2 separate regions of the Homo sapiens genome follow, and region 2 is linked to region 1. Evidence: promoter capture Hi-C in 16 types of primary human blood cells and fetal thymus (Javierre and others, 2016). All regions are on one chromosome and are shown on one strand. The core of a region is centred on a gene start or on the middle of the fragment in contact, and the rest is flanking DNA. Distances in the headings are between cores, read along the strand shown.

Region 1 (6,731 bases), core at 1,156-3,655:
CTTCTGAACTAGTGTTTCATTTCCTAGAGGTGTACAGCTCAGAATTTTCTGTGTGTAGAAGGAAAAAAAATTTAGAGATGATCAGAAAAAAAATTACAGATATCTGTTAACTATTCAATTTTAATATCTCTTCAACCCACCAAAATTGCATTCATGTTTAAATTTAAAAAGTATAAATGCAAACAAAGATAATATGGGGGGAAATTTGGGGGAAATACTTGCAAAGTAATTCTAACAATTCCAGAGTTTAAGCTTAACAAATATCACCAAATTTTGACTGAGTTTACCACTGGAGTTTCTGTCTATTGGGACAAGACAAATTAAAAGTGATCAGGTGAAATATAAATCTTCCAAGCATTACCAAATGAGTACATAATTTTGAAGAACTAAAAAGTGGAGATAAGGTAAATCTTAATGGGAATGGAGTAACTCCAAAAGACAATCAAAATTTGTGTAACAGAACATTACTATGCTTTAATATTTAGTTCCATGTTAAACTTCTACTAACTAGTAACTGCCTAAGGTATCCAAATGAATAAGAAATGACAAATTACACTACTTTATGATATATTCCTGTTTATCTGTATTTAGCATTCGATTTCCATAGCTCTAGATGACAGTTTAGCTCTAATTCTGTAGCATAAAGTGTTTTGAAAATTGAAACTTCTCTACAGGGAGTGGTAGGTTTACTTAGTCTATGAAGACACGCTTTATTATTGGTTTTTATAGATCCTAATGATCCAAGAAAGCAATTTGTTGAAAACCCAAAACGAAAGTACTGTTTTCGGAGACAGAAAAACTGCAAAAGAACTTTTACCAGAAAGTGGAATGAAACTGAGTAGAAAACGCATGGTAGGTAGGACACAAGAAAAGGAGAGGGGGGAGAAAATGAGTTTACATGTAAAACTAGGATGGAATTTTTAGAATACCCAAATGCTGCAAAATTCAAAATTTCAAATGATTTTATTTATTTATAAGGCTGACTTGTGGCTATTTAAAATAACGGCCAAAACAAACCAACAAAAACCCCTACAAACCCCACATAGGTGGCAATGTCGGAAAATCTAGAACTTCAAAAGCAATAAAATTATTGGAACTATTTTTCATTATCTTGTGTCAGAATGTGGAATTTAAAATAGAAACAATTATTCTGGGTTTCTTTGCATACAAACATATAAAGCAAATAAATGAAAACAAAAACATAATTTTTCTTGCCTTCCTTTCATCTTATTGTATAATTGAGACTTTAGGTCCAGGACTTTATCTGGATATTTAATAATTACATCAGCTGTAATTATGGTCAGCGTAAGAGTAAGCCGCATATAACACAAGATTACAGTTAGGACTACCCACTCCTTAACTTAAGCAAATATTTACAGAACATCTACCACACAGGAGACATTGTGTTAGGTACATGGTGTTGGTGTTGCTTTTTTTTTTTTTTAATAACTATAATGGTCATTATACATAAAAGCACACGCATTTAATACAATGGAAGTCAGATCTAGTCAGAAACTCAGACTGTCAAATCCACCTACGGATGAGGCAATCATACTAGTATGTGCCAGACACTGTGTAACTTGATTCTGTGCTAGCTCTTTAATTCTCCTGGCACCTTTATGCAGTTATTTCCGTTTTAAGTTAAGGAAACGAGGGCACAATGCTAGAAGGCACTGGCCGGGTTCCCAGACCCTAGCAGTTTGACTCCAGAGCCTGTACTCTTAGTGGCAGCCACATCTTCCATTGCTCAGTCCAGCGCGGCGACCCGTGCTTTGCATAGCTCCCCAGCAGGGGCAAGCACGAAGTTAAACCTGAGTGACAGAAGCTGCTGTTCTTGCACACCCAGCTAACTGGAATGTGCCTCAGTTTCCTCGTAAAATGGGGAGGGTAATGATAAAGTGGCAACACCATCAAGATGTTAGAAGTTGCAATGAGTCTGAATCTGAAAACCGCTCAGAGCAGCCCTGTGCTGCCTAAGCATTTGTTCCACGTATCTAGTCCTCGAACGCTCCGAGCGACGGAAGGGGCCGGGGCTGCTGCTCACCCGCCCAGTTCCACCCGCCGCGGGCCGCGCCTCGCCCGGGCCCCCAGTCCAAGCCTCCCGTTCCCAGCACTCCGCCGGCCGCTCCTCATTGACCCGGCCCGCCCGCCGCGCAGGCCGCGGCCCCACCCTGGGCCCGCGTGGCCCTCCCGCCCCCGCCCGGCGGCCAGGCCCTGCCCGGAGGCGGGAGACGCAAGCCACGCCATCGCCCGGGCCCGCGCCGCCCTCGTTGCGGCCAGCGCGCTCCCGAGCGGACCCGAGTATCCGACGCAGGCCCCGAGCGCCCCAAGTGCCCCAATCCCACTCACCGCGCGGGACCAGCCACCACTCTGGCTCGCTGGGCGCCTCCCGCGCCGCCGGAAGTGAGGGCCTCGCCGCGCTCTGGCGCCGCCGCGGTCGCTCTAGGAAAGTGGCGGAGCGACCCTCTATGGTCCCGGGCCCACCCGAAAGCGTTGTTCGTTTCTTCCTGTGGTTTTGTTTTCTCCTCCCCCCAACTCGGAAGGCGTCCTGTGACCCCCGGGACCTCAAGAGCTGTAACCGCCCCTGTGTGTGGTCGAGGCTTTTGAAACCAAACTCTAGCCTCTCCAACCTAGAAACTGCATACTTTCCACAAATTTTGAGATTTTTGAGACCCTGGTACTTTTCACGAAGTCACCTTAATTATCACCAAAAAGCTCCTGCAAGATGGGAGTGGTTATACTCCATTTACAGGAAAGGAACCAAGGCTCAGAGAAGAAATGTGCTCCGTTCACCGTGTGTAAGCGGACGACCCAGAATTGGAATGGTTCTTTGTGGCTCCAAAGTCTGATTTCAACACACCCCTTTTGTTGCTCATTAGTAATGATCTCTCTTTGTTCTTATTCCTTCCAGGCTCCTCCTCAGCCATCCTGGCCGTGCTCAGTCATCTGACCAGCTGACCTCCGTGTTCCCCCACTCCCTGGGGAGCTCCTCCGCCTTTTGGCTTCCAATGCTATTGCTGCATGCTGAAGACTCCCGCATTGGTAACTCCAGTCTGACTGTGGGACATAAATGTTATTGAACTTTAGACTTGTATATCGAACTGATTACTCAAGAGCTGCATTTGCATGTGTAATGGACATCCCAAACCTAACATACCCCCCAAATGAATTCCTGATATCTACCTAACCTGTTCTTGCAACAGTCTTCTTCCCAGGGATGGGTGAAGATCCCATCATCTTTCCAGTTGCTCAAGCCAAAAACCTTGATGTCACTGTTGTCTCTTCTTTTTTTCATCCAAAATTCACCTGTGATTTATCCACAAATTCTGTCGGCTTCATCGTTAAAATATATTCATTATCAAGCCACTTTCAACACTTCCACTGCTATAACCACCAAGCCACCTTCATCCACCTTCTGGATTATTATATTGGCTTCCAGACGGGTTGCCCTACAGTCTATTCACGGCCCCAGAGTAATCCTCTTAAACCTAAGTTAGATCATGTCATTCATTTGTTCAAAACCTTCAAAGGCTTCCCAACTTATTAGAGCAAAGCCAAGGACCTCGCAGTGGCACCCGATGCCTCTCATGATCTGTCTCTTTAGTTCTTTATTGTGTCTGCAGTGCTGAAAACAGTGCTCAGCAGGGAACAGACACTCAGTAAATAGCTGTTGAATGAATGAATTTATAAGATGCCTTATTGTTTACAAAGTACTTTTACATCTTATCTTCTGGTTATTCATCTTCACCATAGTCTCATGAAGCACAGATTATCATATCTGTCTTGCAAATCAGTAAACTGAAGCAAGAGAGGCTGACCTGCCTGAAGTAATACAGTGGTTTGTTGGTGGAGGCTAAACTAAGTCATAGGTTCATTCTCTTAAGTTGGGGCTTTCTGCTCTGTAGGGAGCTGTCTCTGCATATGGCAAAGCACAAAGCTGAATGAGGTCTGGACAAAGAAGCTCCACTCGCAATCTAGAGAGTATCTGGACTATTGCAGTGATTAAATGAGGTAATGTAAGGCACTTAGCACAATGTATAACACAGAAGAAATGAGAGTCGTTGTTACTTTTATTATTAAATTGTTATAAGTTGGTTGATGCTGGTGGTTGGAGAGTTTGGGGTAAAGGGCAATGGCCAGAGATCTAGAAATGGTTTAGGAAAAGCGTCAGGAGCAAACATGACCCGTTGGGACTGTCTGCTCTATGTACACTAAAATAAAAAGATAATTTTTAAAAAGCCATTTTGTTAGTAAGGTAGTTACTAATTAAAACTAACTCCTTTAATGTCTACATAAAGATGGATTATCCCTTTTTCCTATACCTGAAAACAACTGGGCCAGCCATAGAAGGGCCAGAGGTATGTCAACTAAAGCATTGGGTAAACGAGGATGGATTTTTTAAAAAGAGAGAGACGAAAGTCAGGAAATAAAGGGGTGTGTGTCCCTAAGTGTGGACAGAGTCCTGGGCAGTAAGGATGGAGAGGAGGGAGAGCCAGAAAAATATATGAAGGAGAGGAGGGTAAAGGAGAATGGGAAAAAGACAGGGAGAGAAAGCAGGTAGGGTTTTATGCCTTCAGCCTAGCTGTTAGTATAATAATAGTTAACACTTATTGAGTGCTTATTGTGTGCCAGGCACTGTTTGCAGCATTTGAGGATCTCACGTGAGATTCCTGAGGCATGATTATTCCTGAGGGTTTGCTCCACCTTCTCTGGTTTTGGTCCCTGCACTTTGTGGTGTGACTCCGGTGCCTCCTGGTGAACCACATGCCTGTCCCACTGATGTTGACTTGACCACTGATTTGAATTGGCTGACCGCATGTGACTGGATGCAAGGGGTACATCACATCCCAGAAGAAACTTCAAGTCATTGTGTTTCTGCCAGGACTCTGCTCTTTCCCTCTGCCTTGAGAATAGCATGTCCCAAGTAGGGGCTGCCCCTTTAGTCTAGGAACCAGGATGATAAGACACATGGAGCAGAGCCACAGAAGCTCACATGTAACCACAACGGTCCCACGTAATGTTAGAGAAACAAATGCTCTTGTAACACTGAGATTCTTGGTGGTATTATTGCATTAAAGTTGACTAATGTACCTCCCACCAACCGTAAGAGATAGGAATTGTTATTATCCTGTGATATTGTGAAATACATAGTTGATCTTCTCCCCGTTTCCTGACATACAACTTCTAAAATCCTTAGAATCTCCAAAGTGATGTCTTTTTATATGCTGATGAGTTGACTGATGCCTGGCAGCCCCTGGGTAGCTTCAGGATGGGGCTGGTCACTGGAAAGACCACAGCAGGATTAGAAGGATGGCAATTTCAGCTCCACCCCATCAACATCTGGGGAGGAGGGCAACTGAAGGTGAAGTGGATCACCAATGGCTGATGGATTAATCAATCATGCCTGTGTTACAAAGTCTCCATAAAAGCTCCCAAAGGACTGGGTTCAGAGAGCTTCTGGATACCTGAACACATGGATGTTACTGGAGGGTGCCACCTGGGGTCGGGGGGTGCAAAGGGGAAGGAGTATGGAAGCTCCGCACCCTTTCCTTCATACCTCACTATATGCATTTCTTTTTCTATATCCTTTGGAATATCATTTGTAATAAACCAGGAAATGTGTTTCGCTGAGTTCTGTGAACCGCTCTTGCAAATTAACCCAAGGAGGGGGTCACGAGAATCCCAACTTGAAGTGGGTAGTTCACAAGTTCCAGAGGCCAGGGCTTGTAACTAATGGGAAGGGTGGAGACCATCTTATGGGACTGAGCCCTCAACCTATGGGAGGTGATGCCATCTCCAAGTAGATAGTGTCAAAACTGAATTAGAGGACACCCAGCTGGTGTCCCTGCAGAAATGATTGCTTGGTTGGTGTGTGGGGAGAATCCCTCACCCCGTTTGGTCACAGAAGTCTTTTGTGATTATTGCTGCTGAGTGAGAGAATAGTAGAAAGCACTTTGTTTTCTTCCACACAGAATCCCCATTTCACAGATGAGAAAACTGAGGCAAGAAACTCGCCCAAGGTCATGCACATTTGTAAGTGGCAAAGCCAGACTTTGAAATCAGAAAGCCTGGCTCCAGAGCCTATTAACCTCTCTATAACAGTCTATCTCCCAAATGGGATTCTAGGCAATTTTTATGCAAATTAAATTATTGAAAATGGTCACGCATGATATTTACAAAACACAAGGGAGAAAGGGAACAAGGGTGTGGGAGGCAGGGGGTGGACACAGTCTGGGCATCTTTCTGCACATATTTCTGGGGATTCTGGCCCAAGAGAGGCCAGATCCCTTAGTGGCTGGGACATCTCTGGGAAACTACCCAGCAGGGACCAGTGTGTCCCTGAGCCCAGTGGTATTTGAAGGGTTCATTCCAGGAAAAAGAGTCTTCTGGGGTGAGAAAAATCCTGGCAAGACAGTTTCATTTTCCTATGTCTTTGTCCCCTGCACACCACTGGCTTGCGCACACACACACAGACACACACACACACACACACACACACACACACACACGCTGTCTCAGCAGGGAGCACTGCTGCCTTGGGTCTGTGTTTGGCAACATGGATCCCCAGCCCAAGTGCCAGAAAGGCAGTTATAGGTGTGGCTCATGTGCGGTAACAACAGTGGTCCGTCTCCCACCAAGAACTCTCAGCCCAGGGATCCTGAACAATGGTTCTTTCCACCAAGCCTGAGACTTGGCTTTCTGTTTCCTTTGGACTCTCTGGGAAAGAAAAC
Region 2 (6,731 bases), core at 1,357-3,856, 210 kb before region 1:
TGAAAGGTGTTAGGTCTTTGTCTAGATTGATTTTTGTGTGTGTTGATGTCCATCTGTTTCAGCATCATTTGTTGAAAAGACTCCTTTTCCCACTGAATTGCCTTTGCACTTCTGCTAAAGATTAGTTGATTGTATTAGTGTGGTCTATTTCTGGGCTATTTTATTCCAGTGATCTATTTGTCTATTGTTTCACCAATACCATACTCTAAGTTTTGAAGTTGGGCAGTGTCAATGCTGCAATTGTATTTTCTTCAATATTGCATTGGCTGTTCTGCCTTTCCATGTAAATTTTAGGATCAGTTTGTTGATATCCATAAACTTTCCGGTATTTTGACTGGAATTGATATGTAGATCAACTTGGGAAGAACTGACATTGTAACAATGTTGGGTCTTCCTATTCATGAACATGGGCTATCTCACAGTTTATTTAGGTCTTTGATTTGTTTCATACTAGTTTTGAAACTTTTCTCATATAGATCTTGTACATATTTTGTTAGCTATATATCTTACTATTTCATTTGTTTGGTGTTAATGTAAATGATATGTTTTTAATTTAAAATTCTAATTATATAGAAAAGCAGTTGTCTTTGTATATAACCTTGTATCCTGCAACCTTGCTGTAGTTGTTTATTAGTTTCAGTTCTTTTTTGTTGATGATTTGGGATTTTCTATGTAGACATCATATTATCTGTGGATAAAGACAGTTTTAATTCATCCTTCCCTATCTGCATACATTTTTCTGCTTTTTCTTACTGCATTAACTAAGACTTCCAATATGATTTTGGCTAAAAGTTGTGACAGGTGACATCCTTGCTTTGTTCCCAACCATAGTAGGAAAGAAACTAGTTCCTTACCATTAAGTATCGTATTAATTGTAGGTTTTTTGTAGATTTTTTTATTAAGTTGAGAAAATTTTCCTCTATTCCTAGTTGGCTAAGAGTTTTTATGGGTGTTGGATTTTGTCCAGTGCTTTTTCTGCATCTATAGATATAATCATATGGATTTTCTTCTTTCGCCTGTTTGAAGTGATGGATTGCTTTTATTTTTGAATTTGAACCACCTTTGCATACCTGGAGTAAGTTCCATTTGGTCATTGTGTATACTCTTAATACATTTTTGAATTAATTTCAAATGCTTTGTTGAGAATTTTTGTATCTATGTTCATGAGAGATGTTCCTCTGTAGTTTCTCCTTTTTGTAATGTCTTTGACTTAATGCTGACCTCATAGAATGAGTTAGGAATTGTTCTCTCTGCTTCTGTTTTCTGAAAGGCATTGTAGAGAATTGGTATAGTTTCTTCCTTAAATGTTTGATAGAATTCATGAGTAAACCTATCTGGGCATGGTGCTTTCTATTTTAGAAGGTTATTAATATTTCTGATTCAATTTATTTAATAGACGTAGGCCTACTAAAAGGATCTATTTCTCCCTGTGTGAGTTTTGGTAGATTATGCCTTTCCAGCAGTTGGTCCATTTTATCTAAGTTATAACATTTTTGGACATAGAGTTGTTCATAATGTTACTTTATTATCCCTTTAACATCCATGAAATCAGTAGTAATGGCCCTTCTTTCATTTCTGTTGTTAGTAATTAGTTCTTTTTTTTTTTTTTTTGGCTAGCCTCCCTAGAGGATTACCAGTTTTACTGATCTTTTCCAAAAACCAGATTTTGGACTCAGACATTTTCTCTATTGATTTCCCCTTTTAAGTATCATTGATTTCTGCCCTAATATTTATTAATTTTTTTTCTGTTTACTTGTAGTTCAATTCATTCTCATTTTTCTTGTTTCCTAGGGTAGAAGTTTGGATTATTGATTTTATAAGGTTGGTGCAGAAGTAATTGCCGTTTAGCCATTACTTTTGCACCAACCTAATAGAACTTTCTTGTTTTGTAATACATGCATTTAATGCTATAAATTTCCTTTACCATTGATTTTGCTGCACTTCACAATTTTTTCTTTTTTTTTTTGAGTCGGAGTCTCCCTCTGTCGCCCAGGCTGGAGTCCAGTGGCGTGATCTCCGCTTACTGCAAGCTCCGCCTGCCGGGTTCATGCCATTCTCCTGCCTCAGCCTCCCAGGTAGCTGGGACTACAGGCGCCCGCCACCATGCCCAGCTAATTTTTTGTATTTTTAGTAGAGATGGGGTTTCACTGTGTTAGCCAGGATGGTCTTGATCTCCTGACCTCGCGATCTGCCTGCCTTGGCCTCCTAAAGTGCTAGGATTACAGGCTTGAGCCACTGCGCCCAGCCCCTGCACTTCACAAATTCTGATAAGTAGTATATTCATTTAATTAAAATATTTTAAAAAATTTTTTGAGATTTCTTTGACGTGTTATTTAGAAATACATTGTTAATGACCAGATGTTTTGGGATTTTTCAGCTATCTTTCTGTTTGATTTCTAGTTTAATTCCAGTGTGGACTGAGAGCTTATATAATTTCTATTCTCTTTAAGGGGTGTTTTATGGCCCAGAATGTGGTCTATGTTGATGAATGTTCTGTGCAAGCTTCAGAAGAATGTGTTTTTTTGTGTTGGATGGAGTAGTCTATAGATGCCAGTTATATCCAGTTGATTGATGGTGGTGTTGTGTTTTTAACTCTGCCCTTACTGATTTTCTGCCTGCTGGATCTGTCAGTTACTAACAGAATGGAGTGTTGAAGTCTCCAAGTATAATAGTGGGTTTGTTTCTTTCTCTTTGCATTTCTGTAAGCTTTTGTCTTGCTATTTTGACACTGTTGTTGGATGCATACACATTAAGGATTACTGTGTCTTCTTGGAAAGTTTACCTTTTAATCATTATATAATATCCCCTTTTATTTCTGATAATCTTCCTTGCTTTGAAGTCAGCTTTGTCTGAAATTAACATGACTACTCCAGCTTTCTTTTGCTTAGTGTTCAGTGTCATGTATCTTTCTCCATCCCTTTACTTTTAATTTGTTTCTATATTTTATATTTAAAGTGGATATCTCATAGATAACATATCGTTAGATCCTGTTTTTTTTCTTTTAGAAAAATCCACCCTGATAGTCTTTTATAGTCTTTTAATTGATATGTTTGGTTATCAACATATAATGTGATCATTGATATTGCTTAGATTAATACCTACATAATAAGTGTTTTCTATTCTTGCCCTTGTTCTTTTTTTTTTTGTCTTCTGCTCTTTTTCTGCTTTCCATGGCTTTAATTGAGCATGTTGTATGATTTCATTTTCTCTACTCAAAACATATTCCATTTTCTCTCCTCTCAGCAAACTTACATGTAAAAATGTATGTATGTATTTATTTATTTATATATATTTTTGAGACAGCGTCTCGCTCTGTCACCCAGGCTGGAGTGCAGTGGTGTGATCTCAGCTCACTGCAAGCTCCGCCTCCCAGGTTCACACCATTCTCCTGCCTCAACCTCCTGAGTAGCTGGGACTACAGGCGCCCACCATGATGCGTGGCTAATTTTTTTTGTATTTTTAGTAGAGACGGGGTTTCACCGTATTAGCCAGGATGGTCTCGATCTCCTGACCTCGTGATCCACCCATCTTGGCCTCCCAAAGTGCTGGGATTACAGGCGTGAACCACTGCGCCCAGCCAAAAATTTATTTTTTTTAGAAGGAGGATAAGGCAAGGAATAAAAACTTCTTAATGATAGCCCTAGAGTTTGCAATATACATTTACAATGAATGTCAACTCACTTTTAAATAACACTGTGCCACTTCAGAGCCAGTGCAGATGCCTTAAAATCAAACATTTCCAGTTCCTTCCTGTTGTCCTTTATAGAACTGCTAACATTCATTTCACTTATCCGTAAACTATAATCAACCAACACATTGCTGCTGTTACTATTTTGAACAATCTGTTATCTGTTAGATTAAGAATAAGAACAATACACCATTTTATATTACTTTTATTCATTCTTTAACACTCTTCCTTTATGTAGACACTATTTTCTGCTGTATTGTTTTTATTCTCTGTGACGAGCTTGTTTTTAGCACATTTTATGTCTCTTCAATTTTTATTTTGGTGAGAAAGTATTTCTTTATATTTGATAGATAATTTCATTGAATACAGGATTCTAGATTGGAGGGTGTTTTTCCCTTCAGCACTTTATATTTTACCCCATTGCTGGCATGGTTTCTTAAGAAAAATCCAATGTGATTTTTATTCTGGTTTCTTTATAGGTAAGGTTTTTTTTTTGTTGTTGTTTTGTTTTTTTCCTCTGACTTCCTTCAATATTTTGTCTTTGTCTTTGACTTTCTACAGTTTGAATGTCATATGTGTAGGTGTAGATTTTTTGGTAATTATCCTTTTTTGTGTTCCCTGAGCTTCTTGGATATGTGGTTTGGTCTCTGTCATTAATTTTGGAATATTCTGAGTTATTTAAATATTTTTTTCTGTTCTTTCTCTCGTTATATTCCCTTTATGTGCATGTTATGCCTTTTGTAATTTTCCCATTTTCTTAGATATTCTGTTTCACTTTTCCACTCTTCTTTTTTCTCTTTGCTTTTCAGTTCAGGAAGTTTCTGTTGACATGTCTTCACGATCACTGATTCTTTCCTTGGCTGTATCCATTCTACTAATGAGCCAGTCAGAGGCTCTCTTTATTTCTGTTACAGTGTTTGTAATCTCTAGTATTTCAGTTCTCTCTTAGGGCTTTTGTCTTTGCTGACATTACCCATCTTTTCTTGCATTTTGTCTACCTTTTCTATTAGAGCTCTTAGCATATCAATCATAGTAATTTTAAAGTACCAGTCAGATAACTTTAAAATATCTGCTATATCCAAGTGTACTTCTTTTGCTTTATTTCTCTCTTCAGCCTGTATTTTTTTCTTTTTAGAGTAGCTTGTAATTTTGTTGTAAGCCAGACATGATGCATTGGGTAAAATGAACTGAGGTAAACAGGCTTTTAGTGTGAGTTCTCACATTTTTGTAGCTGTGGGTGTCAGAGGGTAACATTTTCTCTTTTGTCTTCCTTGTTTTTTCCTCCCCTTTTGTCTTAGAGTTTCCCTGTTGAATCCTTAAATACTGTGTGAGCATTGAAGTTCTGCCATAATTCCATGTTATTTTATAGGAGCCCTTCTGACAAGACAGGATCGGGAAAAGGGAAATGCTCTGTAATCCTGTGCTTAGATCTCTGTCCTTTAGTGAGCCTTGGCTGTGACCTTCACAGCTGTTTCTCAGCTTCCCTGCATGTCCCCCAAGTGAGACAGGAAGGTGTGAGCGGGCTGGAGTTGGGTATTTCCATTACTTCCTATTGGTCAGGCTCTGGTAAAACCCAGGTAGCCTAGGCTCTGCTAAAATCATTTCTCCTTTGTTAAGGAGAGCAGAATACTTTGGCCTTATTTCACAGTGGTTGCTCTTCTCCCCTTCCATGAAGCACAAAGGGATTTTTTTTTCCTATCTAATTTTTTCACCCTGAGAAACCGATAGGGCTCTTGGAGGTAAAACTCAGCAAAGTACAGGAGACCCCTTAAGACCAGGCTCCCAGAAGTTGTTTTTTGTTGTTGTTTTTAATCTCTCAAACTAGTCTACCACTCAGTCTCTGGCAATTAGGCAGTTATCCTTGAAGCATCCTTACCAGTTGCTGGCTCCAGCAGGTATTTCTGCTCCTAGTATGCTGTGATTCTCTGTGTTTGCCTGTCTCTAGTTTTCAGTATGGTGGCTTGCCCTGTGACCTCAATTTTCTGATGAATCTACGGAATAGTTTTTTGTTTTGTTTGCTCAGCCTTTTTCTTACTGTGAGCATGGTAGTGACAACTTCCAGACTCTATTTGCTAACCAGAAATGCGATACATCTCTAATCTGTTTTTAACTGTGGAAATATGGCTCCCTGCTCCTTGGAACTCGAACTGTATCTAGATTTTCAGCACATATAGCCATTTCCTATGATACTTTCTCTCCTTTAGCCCTCACGTAGTCTTAGTTCTACAGGCACCTCTATCTTTTATGCACATCAAGAGTCCTTAGGTCAGTGTATCTCTATTTATTTTGATTGTCTGAAGCTTGTACTCTGAAATATTCCTCAGAAAGGTATCAAGAGAATAATATTCCCAGTTTTTCCTGTGGATAGTACATAAAAATTTGTGTTCTTTTTACATGAAAATCAATTTTACAGGTATACAGACTCAAAGTTTCTTTTCTGGAGTGTTGTCGATGTGTTACTTTATTGCTTCTGGCATAAATTGTCTGAAAGCCTGTTGATACAATTTTATGTCCTGTAATTTTACTGGAGTATGACTTGGTGTAGGGTATAGGTCATTCTGGTCTGATTATTTCCCAGGTATGTAGTATGTTCTTTAAATTTGTAGTTTGAAAATTGTATTAGTCCATTTTCACACTGCTATAAAGAACTGCTCAAGACTGGGTAATTTATGAAGGAAAGAGGTTTAATTGACTCACAGTTCAGCATGGCTGGGGAGGCCTCAGGAAACTTAAAATCATGGCAGAAGGGGAATCAAGGCACCTTTTTCACAAGGCAGCAGGAAGGAGAAGTGCTGAGCAAAGGGGGAAGAGCCCCTTATAAAACCATCCTGTCTCATGAGAGCTCACTAACAGGAGTTATTATTTCTTGAATTTCCTATTTTTCCCAGGATGTCTTTATTATTTTCTTACCGTCCTGTCTATGTTTAGTCACATGGCCCTTTGAGGTGACTTGTCTGCAAAATGAGGAATTCATCACTGTTCTTTTGTCAAGGTAGAGGGAGTTATGTAATTCCATAAACTGTTCATATCTGATGACAGAAAT

The links. Contacts are between HindIII fragments. The CHiCAGO score rates a contact against its expected background, and 5 or more counts as called.
Region 2: a fragment that was not itself captured here is called in contact with the fragment with the promoter of ZNF22 in region 1 in 3 of 17 cell types (erythroblasts, M1 macrophages and megakaryocytes); the score reaches 8.4 in erythroblasts.

Annotation. Positions count from the first base shown.
Region 1 is chr10:44,996,597-45,003,327 of GRCh38, reverse strand. It overlaps ZNF22 (zinc finger protein 22), which reads right to left and starts at 2,405. Exons shown (of 2, transcript NM_006963.5): 1 at 2,350-2,405; 2 at 1-48. It overlaps LOC124902530, which reads right to left. Exons shown (of 3, transcript XM_047426129.1): 3 at 945-2,548. The coding sequence ends at 1,919. ZNF22-AS1 (ZNF22 antisense RNA 1) reads left to right here and starts at 2,525. Exons shown (of 4, transcript NR_126421.2): 1 at 2,525-2,798; 2 at 2,912-3,042; 3 at 3,906-4,011. RefSeq lists an enhancer at 1,789-2,289 and a silencer at 2,016-2,365. The HindIII fragment of the contact is 6,687 bases long and covers 255-6,731 here.
Region 2 is chr10:45,207,689-45,214,419 of GRCh38, reverse strand. All of the region lies in intron 3 of LOC105378283 (a long non-coding RNA gene), which reads left to right. Among named protein-coding and RNA genes, the nearest start is that of MIR3156-1, 47 kb to the right of the region's middle. The HindIII fragment of the contact is 204 bases long and covers 2,505-2,708 here.